Linked DNA regions of Homo sapiens: all the other regions are linked to region 3. Evidence: promoter capture Hi-C in human tissues and cell types (Jung and others, 2019). All regions are on one chromosome and are shown on one strand. Each heading gives the region's core, a stretch centred on a gene start or on the middle of the fragment in contact. The rest is flanking DNA. Distances are from core to core; before and after follow the strand shown. Region 1 overlaps RGS3 (regulator of G protein signaling 3). Region 2 overlaps FKBP15 (FKBP prolyl isomerase family member 15). Region 3 holds the start of HDHD3 (haloacid dehalogenase like hydrolase domain containing 3).

Region 1 (3,351 bases), core at 254-2,753, 140 kb after region 3:
CCCTGGCTGTGGGGAGTGACTTTGGTGGCAGGAAGAGTAAAGCTATTAGCCAAAGTGAATTTTTAGACCAGCATCAGTTTACCTGAGTTTTCTGGGCCTGTTTTAACCCAAATCCCATGTCCTCTTCTGAGAGACGAGTCTATGATTTCGCCTGGGTTGTAGCTCTGCCTGTGGGGTGCTGACATGGGACCTGTGTCACCCTTCCTGGGAGCTGGCCTGGGATGCTTTTCTCTAATTGGGAGAACTTCATTCATCTACACAACCCCAGAGCTGGTCAGTTCAGTCTCTGAGCTTAAACTACTTGGGTACAGAAGTTGGAGCCCTGGGCTCTGCCCTGGCTACCTGGGGCCATGGGGTGAGGGTAGCAGGCTCTTTGCAGATCAGGCCCCAATGTAGAGCTGCCTTGGCTGAGTCGAGTGGCAGCTTGGGGTAGTGGAAAGATCAGGAAACTTGGAGACAGGAAGTTTGTATCGAGACCCAGGTCTGCTGCTGGCTCACATGTGATTTCTTCCTTCTTCCTCAGTCTTTCCATCTGAGCAGTAGGTATGTGTGTATTTGAGGCAGTAAGGGCAGGGTCAGAGGTTGGTCTGTAAGGACGCTTTAAACCTCAGCCTTCTGGGACACTATGTGTGACTGTGGCTGAAGCAGGAGGTTGGTTTGTTTTTTAAGTAAGCAGACTGGACTGGAACTCATCTATTCCAAATGTACATTATCTTTTTCAAGGGAGTGCCCTGGGGGACTGCATGCTCCCTTCCACCGCTCGCTGTTGCCTACTGTATTTCTGGACCTCCTCTTTTCCGAACCTCCTCTTGGGAACTTTGCAAACTTTGGGAACTTAACAATCTTTGCATATCTTCTGAATTGTCTCAGTGGGAGTAAAACTTCATCTGTTGGGAGGGATTTAAGTTTTAGGGATGAGAAGTCACTTAGAGCTATGTTTGGTGAATGAGAGTGTGGTGGACCTAAGTCTGGCATCCAAGGGTCAGAAATTGAGGTGTGGCCATAAATTCACAGACTCATAAGAAGCCAGTTAGAGATGGCAGCCACCCTGAAACATATACATAAGTCTAAATTCACTCTTCTGTTTGTCCACTTACCCTTGAATCTGCAAACATTGAGCACTTATTGTGTATCCTCATTGTGTATGCATTTTACATACTTGACCCCAATTAGCTCTTGCAGCACCCCCATGAAAGGCACGATTGTCCCCACTCTGTAGTTAAGGCAACTGAGGCTCCAGTGAGATTCACTGGGACCCAAGAGTCTCCAGGCTGGTAAGGAATGGAGCCGGGTCATTTCTGGCTCAGTGATGCTTTCCATGACCCCACACTGCTTCTGGCATGTCTGCATAAAGACAAACTAAGGAACACAAGCTGAAGCCAGAGCCTTGTGACAGTTGCAATTCGTCCAGAAAACCCTGCCTTATAGATCTCTGGAGACTTAGAACCAAGAGACCCCTCTCCCTTAGCCTTGAAGATTGAAGGAAACAATTTGAAGACAAGTAAAATAAATATTAATGTATTCCTTTTTGTTGAAGTATGATGGCAACCAAACATGTAGATCTGGGCATCCTGTCATATTACTCACACCAAAAAAAAAAAAAAAAAAAAATTCAAAGGGATTTGGATAAATTCATGAAATCTCAGCATTGGTTAGGCTTTCAGGAGTCATCCATGCTAATTGCTTCCTTGTAACTTTCCAGTTAAATGGTTTTCTGATTGGTGCTTGAATCTTCTAGGGCAGCCCATTAGAGCAGTGGTTTTTTTTTTTACTGGGAAGGGCTAAATTGTAGAGCATTCTCCCTTACACTCAACAGAAATCTTTATTTGTGGAATGTTCCTCCTTGGTTCTTTGTCCCATCACTTCTCTGGGCATGCTCAAGTTTGCTAACATCTGTGAGCTGATCCAGTCCCGCACCGTGAACTACCCTCATCACAGCCCCTTCCAGAAGTAATAGACTTGATTAATGTGCCCTGAGGTCTATGGCCCTGTGCGAGGTTCTGGGAATACCATGAAGCACAAGACAGACACACCCTCCCTTTACACACTGACTCATGGAGTTTACCATTAACTAAGGCACCAAAGTCTTTTTGGTAAACTCTGCTCTTAGGTCAGATTCCCAAGAAGAAGCTTAGTTAGGGCCACTTGGGAGAAGCCACCCTCCAAGTGGTAAGGACCCCCTTACCAAGTGATCCCTCAACTCTGACCCTTTGGAAAATCAGATGTGTCCTTGGAGCAAGTGTGGGGAAGACACTGGGTGACCCCCGTGGCCTGTGGAAGGCGACAGGTGATTGGGCCATGGAGATGGGCATCACTCTCCCATGGGCTGCCGTGGCCCCTGCTGGTGCTGGTGAGATGGGGGAGTCCACATGCCCTCCCCGGCACGCTTGCCCCTCTGCTCTGCCTCCAGCTGTGTGCCAGCTCTGGCCTTTCCCTGACCCAACCTTTGGGAAATTTTTCATTTATGCCTTAATCACTTCCTGTCTAGACCATATTCTCAGCCCTGGGAATCTGAGCCAGAGTGGTGGCCTGGGCCTTTTCTCACCTTGCTCATGGTTCTTCCCCAGTTGCTGGTGGCTCCTCCTACTTGCCCTACTTCCACCCCTCTCTGGGCCTGGGCTGTTTTTTTTTTTTTTTTTTTTTTAAACTTTCTAGGCTCCTGACAGATTGTCGGCTCCAGCCCTTCCCCTGCCAGCCTCCCTCTGGGTCTGGAGGTGACTACCAGATTTCCCTTGAGTCAGCGACACGTTTTGTGGGACCCTGAGGGTTTGCTTTGTGTTTCTGGCTAGTTTAGAGCCTTCTTTCCATTGCTCGGACTTTGAAGTCTTCTCAGACAACCAATTCCTTGACTCCTTCTGAGCTCTTGAGTCATTTTCTTCACCTCATCTCTTAACATTATTATTATCATTATTATTATTAATTATTATTTTTGCCTCATTTGCTCCACCTCTTTGGTCTCTGGATTCTTTCACATTCAGGAACTGCACAGCTGTAAGCACATTGGTATCTCTCTGTATAGTGATAGCTTTAGGTCAGCTATACCTGGGTAATGGTCCCTGGCTGTGTGGCCATGGACAGGTCACTTAACCTGTCTGAGCTCTAGGGTCCTCATCTGTAAATGAGGGCAGTGGTGTTATTTATAAGTGAGGATCCACTGAGCAGAAAGGAAGCGTTCAACACTTGAAGACTTCTCTTGGGCTGCACTGAGACAGGGCTGTGGTGGGAAGGGTTAGGGTCACTACCAAGATGCCTTATAGCCCAGGGTTCTGGAGTCCTCATGTTTGGGCCCCATTGGAGAAGCCAAAGCCCCTGAGAGCTCCTTCAAGGACGTCTCCCTGTTGTCTCTGCAGC
Region 2 (3,533 bases), core at 958-3,457, 170 kb before region 3:
CAAAGTGTATTAAGAACCTAAAAATATCTGGACCTTTTGACCCAATCACTCACTTACTGAAATAAAGCTTATGGAAATATGTAGGGGGGAAAAAAGGACAGACTTCTATAAAAAATGCTCACCACGGTATCATTTACTGCAGAGACAGAAAACAATCTAAATGCACAACATAAGGTAATGATTACATCAATTAAGAAACAAATGTTATGGGCTGAATGTTTGTGTCCCCTCCGAATACTTACACTGAAATCCTAATTCCCAGTGTGACAGTATTAGGAGGTGGGGCCTTTGGGAAGTAAGTAAGCCAGGAGGGTGGAGCCCTCATGAATGGGATTAGGGACCTTATTAAAGAGATACAGAGAACTCTCTCACCCTCTTTCTACCATGTGAGGATACAAGAAGAAGATAGTCTGCAACCCAGAAGAGGGTCTCACTAAAACCCGACCGTGCTGGCACCCTGATCTCAGACTTTCAGCCTCGAGAACCGTGAGAAATAAATTTCTGTTGCTTAACCAGACTATGGTAATTTGTTACGGTAGCTTGAACTGACAACATGCATATTATGCAGCCTTCAAAAATGTTTCCAAATAGTTTTTCATGAGGTAGGAAAAGATGAATTATACATTTTTAAATAAAATAAGCATGATAAAGAACTATTAAAGGACTGTATCTACTTATGTATATTATGCATAGAAAAAAGGAAATATGTTAATAGTGGTTACTTTGAGTAGTAAGACTATGAGTGATTTTTTTTAATGCTTTTCTAAATTTTCTACAATGAGTATGTAGTAACTTAACTCTCTTTCTTGCTCTCTCTATCTCTTTCTCTCTCTTTCTTTCTTTTCTTGTACAGATGGGGTTTCACTATGTTGCCCAGGCTGATCTTGAACTCCTAGGCTCAAGTGATCCACCTGCCTCGGCCTCCCAAAATGCTGGGATTACAAGCGTGGCATGAACCACCACACCCAGCCTAAAACATTCTTTGAAAACACTATTTTTTAAAGATAGTTTTATTTATTCCTTAAGATAATTTATGTAGTAGAAAATTTTTTAATATAATAAGATTACATTTAGTCTTTCTCTGTTAAAAAAGAAAAAGGCTAAATTGTCAAGCAGTTTCAGTAAGTATTCCTATTATTTTCCTGAAATCATACAATAGGCCGAAGTGGCAAATTTAGTGGGTTTTTTATGCTAGTCACTAACAAAACACAGCAGATTATGGGTTTTCTATATGTTTCCCTAAAATTAAGGGAAATCCAAACAAGTATTTTGGCTTTTCACAGGGAGAGTAAGATGTTATCACCTGCTTATTGAACTCCACAGCAGCCTTTTCCGACTCAAACATGATGGACCAGTTCTGTCTCTGGTCATCATAAAAGGTGCTATAGTTATTGGGCCGAACCTGGAGAAAGGAGAAATGTTAAATTCATCCACAAGCAGTATTATACCAGATAAACATGACGGCCTAAGCTCATAGAGTAGGGTCTTGACTCAGGTGGACCCAAAGGGAACTATCAGAGATCTTTCTTCTTCCCTCTCACCCTCTACGATTCACCCTTCAGTCCACATTCCTAGAAGGAGCCAAGAGACCTTTCTGAAAGGTTCTGTTAGATACTCACAAGGACACCCAGGGCTGAACCAGTGGATCTAATTTCTATTAGGTACAATCAGACCAGTCTCTCCTGTAAACCTATCCCGAAGGAGCTAATGATTCCAATATGATGAAGTCTTACCATTAGCTCAAAGTTCACATGAATCCTAGCAACCGTAACTGGCTGTTGTTGACTGATATAAAGAAGAATCCTATACTGTAGACAAGCAACGACAGATAGAAAAAAAAAAAGAGAGACAGCAGAAGTTAAAAGGCAATATAAAATCAGCAATATAAAATCAGCAATAAGTATCAAAGGTTGTGCTTCATACTAAACTCAAAATCTATTCATCCTTTAAGGCTTCAACTTTAAATTTTATCTTCTCACTATCCACATTAATCTCTTCTCATTTTGGTCTTACTGTTTAACTGTAATTGGCAATGTCTTCATTTTGTTGGTGTTTTCATTTATACAAGGGGTGACTAAGAGTGGCTGGTTGTGTAAAAGAAAATACAAATTGTTTTTAAATTGATGAAAAACATAAAATACATGTTCATTATACATATATGTGCCCACGTGACCATCAACCAGATTTAAAAAATAGCAGAGCATTTCCCACACCACAGGAAGCTCCCTCATGCCCTTCCTAGTCAATAATCCCCACCCTGAGATAACCAATATTCTGACTTCTGTCGCTGATTAATTTTGCTTTTTTTTTTTTTCTTTTTGAGACAGAGTCTCTCTGTCGCCCAGGCTGGAGTGCAGTGGCGCAATCTCGGCTCACTGCAACCACTGCCTCCCGGGTTCAAGCAATTCTCCTGCCTCAGGCTCCCGAGCAGCTGAGACTACAGGTGCACGCCACCACACCCTACTAATTTTGTATTTTTAGTAGAGACCAGGTTTCACCATGTTGGCCAGGCTGGTCTTGAACTCCTGACCTCAGGTGATCCGCCCACCTTGGCCTCCCAAAGTGCTGAGATTACAGGTGTGAGCCACCGCACCCAGACAATTTTGCTATTCTTAAATTTGTATAAATAGGATTATACAGAGTATACTCTTTTGTCTTGCTTCTTTCACTCACCGTATCTATAAGAGTAAGCCTTGATACTTCATGTTCCAGGACTTTATTCTCTTTTATTGTCATGTAGTATTCTATTATGTGAATATACCATAAACTCTTCATTCATTCTCCTGTTTATGAACATTTGAGTTGTTTCCAGCTAGAGGCTATTATGAATGATACTTCTATGAACATTCTCCACGTCATTTTTTTTTGAGATGACGTTTCACTCTTGTTGCCCAGGCTGGAGTGCAATGGCATGATCTCAGCTTACCGCAACCTCCACCTCCCAGGTTCAAGCAATTCTCCTGCCCCAGCCTCCCAAGTAGCTGGGATTACAGGCATGTGCCATCACACCTGGCTAATTTTTTTGTATTTTTAGTAGACACGGGGTTTCTCCATGTTGGTCAGGCTGGCCTTGAACTCCCGACCTCAGCCTTGGCTTTCCAAAGTGCTGGGATTGCAGGCGTAAGCCACCGCGCCCAGCCTCTCCATGTCTTTTGAAAGACACAGACATTCGTTTCCCTCAACTTAAAGAATGTCCTTTAATGTTCCTTGTAGTGCAAATCTACTACAATGAATTCTCTCACTTTTGTTTGGCTGAAAATTTATTTTGCCTTCATTTTTGAAGGATATTTTTGTTGCTATAGAATTCTGTAATAGGCAGGGTTTTGTTTTCCTTTCAGTACTTTAAAGATATAATTCTACTGTCTTTGGATTCCAATTACATGGACGTTAGACCATGTCCCACATCAATCTTTGCCCTGGTCTCTTTCTATTATTTCTTCTCTCTGTGCTTCAGTCTGAATATTTTCTATGTTACTGCCTTCGAAGTCACTAATTCTGTCTCCTGCTGTATTCTGACTCTGTTAAACCCATCC
Region 3 (3,320 bases), core at 1-2,500:
GAGGCTGGTGCAGCTTCTTTCCCCAGACAGAGCTGATCCCAGACAAGGCCGTCCCCTTGAAACCTGAGGGGCCAGAGTTCAAAGTACGGCTAAGTTGATACTTAGGGAAGGGCGTCACTGGTAAATCTGGGGGAGCCTTGGAGGAAGTTTGTCCAGGAAATGAATTAAGGAGACTCATCCAAAGATCCTCTCATTTTGCAGGTGGGTAGACAGAGACCCAGTGAGGGGCAGTAATTTACCCCCAAATCACACAGGGAGTCACATTGGCACAGCTAAGACTAGAGCAGAGGGCTCTGGCTCCTGACCCACGGCTTTTTTTTTTTTTTTTTTTTTTTTTTGAGGCGGAGTTTCGTTCTTGTTGCCCAGGCTGAAGTGCAATGGCGCGATCTCGGCTCACTGCAACCTCCGCCTCCCAGGTTCAAGCGATTCTCCTGCCTCAGCCTCCCAAGTAGCTGGGATTACAGGCATGCGCCACCATCCCCGGCTCCTTTTTTTTTTGTATTTTTAGTAGAGACGGGGTTTCTCCATGTTGGCCAGGCTGGTCTCGAACTCCCGACCTCAGCCTCCCAAAGTGTTAGGATTACAGGCGTGAGCCACTATACCCGGCCGGCTTTTTTTCTTTTTTTTTTTTTTTGAGACAGAGTCTCACTCTGTCACCCAGGTGTACAGTGGTGCGATCTCGGCTCACTGCAACTTCCGCCTCCCGGATTCAAGCGATTCTCCTTCCTTAGCCTCCAGAGTAGCTGGGACTACAGGCGCGCGCCACCACACCTGGCTAATTTTTGTATTTTTAGTGGAGACGGGGTTTCAACTATGTTAGCCAGGCTGGTCTCGAACTCCCGAACTCGTGATCCTCCCCCGCCCCACCCCGCCCCCCGGCCTCCCAAAGTGCTGGGATTACGGTAAAGGCGTGAGCCACCGCGCCCGGCAGGGCTTTTTCGATTTCTAAAACCGCGGGTTTGGGGCTCTGCGCTGCAGGCACGAACTGCTCACCTTTTCTCCCCACCTCCAGGGCTCGGGAAAGGCGAAGTCCAGGAGCCCGGACCTGACGCAGAATGTCTATAGCTGCCGTCGGCAGCGTGAGCTGGGGCGGCGGTCCTAGGGGCCTTGGCCGCGGCCGACCCCTTGGGTCCCCTTCTCAGCTGTAGGGCGTCCACGGCTCCGGGCCGGTTCCTGGGCCCAGGACCCACCTGACTCACAAGGAAGCAGATTGAAAACGCAGCCGCAAGGCCCGCGAGCTCGGGCGGAGGTGCGCAAGCGCCGGGCGGTGGGGCGGGGATCGCGCGGGCCGCCCCTCCCTACCATCCCGACCCGCCTCTGTCCCCGCCCCGTCCCCGCCCTTATCCCCCTCACCTTCGCCCTCTCCCGCCCCATCTCCCGTCGCCCTCGCCGTCCCCTCTCCCTCCTTCGTCTCACTGTGCACCTCTCTGCGCCCCTGTCACCCGCCTTCACTGCGCGCCTCCGTTACCCTGCACCATCTACGCCCCTTATTCCCTCCCCGCACCCTCTGAGGTTCCCCAGCCCGCACCCTTCCGCTCCGCAGCCCCCGTTACCAGCACCTTCTCCGCCCTGTCTGCGCACCCCCTGCCCGCCACACCGCCGCTCCTCACCGCTGTCTCCGCTCCCCATCCCCAACCCCGGCTCCTGGCCTCCTTTGGATCGGGAAACCCCCGAGAAGTACCCAGGTTGAGTGGGAGGAGGGGAGTTGGGACCCAGCCTGGCTTGCTTAGTGTTGTGTGAACCTGGGCAAGGCCCAGCCCCTCTCTGGTCTCAGGGTCCCCAGTTGGTATTGGAGGGAATTGCTTTCAGTTGGAAACTTGTTAAATCCAAGATAACTTGGTGAGGGTAGAGTCCGCTGCAGTAACCTGCTTTTTTATTCTTTCTCTTTTTTTTTTTTTGAGACGGAGTCTCCCTCTGTCGCTCAGGCTGGAGTGCAGTGGCGCGATAGCCCACTGCAACCCCCGCCTCCCAGTTTCTTGCGATTCTCCTGCCTCAGACTCCCCAGTAGCTGGGATTACAGGTGTGTGCCACCACACCCAACTAATTTTTGTATTTTTAGTAGAGACAGGGTTTCGCCGTGTTGGCCTGGCTAGTCTTGAACTCCTGACCTCAGGTGATCCGCCCACCTCAGCCTCCCAAAGTGCTGGGATTACAGGCATGAGCCACCGCACCTGGCCTCTTTTTGTTTTTAAGAACCCTGTGGTACCATCCTGGCTAACACGGTGAAACCCTGTCTCTGCTAAAAATACAAAAAATTAGCCGGGCATGGTGGCAGGTGCCTGTAGTCCCAGCTACTCGGGAGGCTGAGGCAGGAGAATGGCATGAACCCGGGAGGCGGAGCTTACAGTGAGCCAAGATTCTGCCACTGCACAATATTTGCCTGGGCAAAGAGCGAGACTGTGTCCCCAAAAAAAAAAAAAAAAAAAAAGATCCCTGTGGTAAGAGCCTGGAATCCTAACCACTAGACCACCAGGGAGCTTTTTTATTCTTTTGAAGAATAAAAAAAGAGTTTTATCTTTGTTTGCAAAAGTAATGTATGTTGGCTGGGCGCGGTGGCTCACGCCTGTAATGCCAGCACTTTGGGAGGCTGAGGTGGGTGGATCACCTGAGGTCAGGAGTTCAAGACTAGCCTGGCCAACACGGTGAAACCCCGTCTCTACTAAAAATACAAAATTAGGCGAGGTGGTTCATGCCTGTATTCCCAGCTACTTGGGAGGCTGAGGAAGGAGAATCGCTTGAACCGGGGAGGTGGAGGTTGCAGTGAGCCAAGATCAGGCTACTGTATTCCAGCCTGGGTAACAAGAGCAAAACTCCATCTCAAAAAAATAAAAAAATAAAAAAATAATAAATAAATAAGGTATGCATGTAATGCATGTTAGTCTCAAAAAACTAAAAAATACAAACATATGAGAGTTGGCCATGCAGAGGGGAAGGATCTGAGTGATGGTTAAGGGACCCCCTGATGCAAAGGCCTCCAGGCAAGAAAGTTTTTTTTCCGAACCAAAGAGACACTGAGGAACTATAGGAATGTTGCTAGCCAGGGGGTTTGGGCCAAAGAGGCTGGGGAGGTACCGGAGGGGAAGCTTTGAGATACTTCTGTGCCTGTGCTCTGTTCCTCTTTAGTCTCATCACCTTGCACTATGACCTTAGGCAAGACAGGTCATAAGACAGCCCCCACCACCCAGGCCCCTTTGAGAGGGTCTTGCCGCATACCCTGGAGGAAGGAACACTGCACAGAGAGGCCAAGAAGAATCTACACAGATGGGTCTTGGTGGGTTTCTCTATTCAGTCTATTAGCGTTTTGTGCAATCCTGTTTCTA

What was found. The method cuts DNA at HindIII sites, captures the fragments that hold promoters and counts their contacts. A contact is called where the count stands out against the background at its distance.
Region 1: a fragment that was not itself captured here is called in contact with the fragment with the promoter of HDHD3 in region 3 in 1 of the 25 tissues and cell types used here (IMR-90 fibroblasts).
Region 2: a contact is called between a fragment that was not itself captured here and the fragment with the promoter of HDHD3 in region 3, in 2 of the 25 tissues and cell types used here (mesendoderm cells and pancreas).

Annotation. Positions count from the first base shown.
Region 1 is chr9:113,517,921-113,521,271 of GRCh38, forward strand. All of the region lies in intron 14 of RGS3 (regulator of G protein signaling 3), which reads left to right. Among named protein-coding and RNA genes, the nearest start is that of RGS3, 56 kb to the left of the region's middle. RefSeq lists enhancers at 256-545, 2,262-2,311, 2,332-2,381. The HindIII fragment of the contact is 5,054 bases long and covers 1-3,351 here.
Region 2 is chr9:113,201,228-113,204,760 of GRCh38, forward strand. It overlaps FKBP15 (FKBP prolyl isomerase family member 15), which reads right to left. Exons shown (of 28, transcript NM_015258.2): 5 at 1,734-1,808; 6 at 1,304-1,402. Among named protein-coding and RNA genes, the nearest start is that of FKBP15, 18 kb to the right of the region's middle. The HindIII fragment of the contact is 9,656 bases long and covers 1-3,533 here.
Region 3 is chr9:113,375,736-113,379,055 of GRCh38, forward strand. It overlaps HDHD3 (haloacid dehalogenase like hydrolase domain containing 3), which reads right to left and starts at 1,251. Exons shown (of 3, transcript NM_001304509.2): 1 at 994-1,251. RefSeq lists a silencer at 1,103-1,622. The HindIII fragment of the contact is 17,820 bases long and covers 1-3,320 here.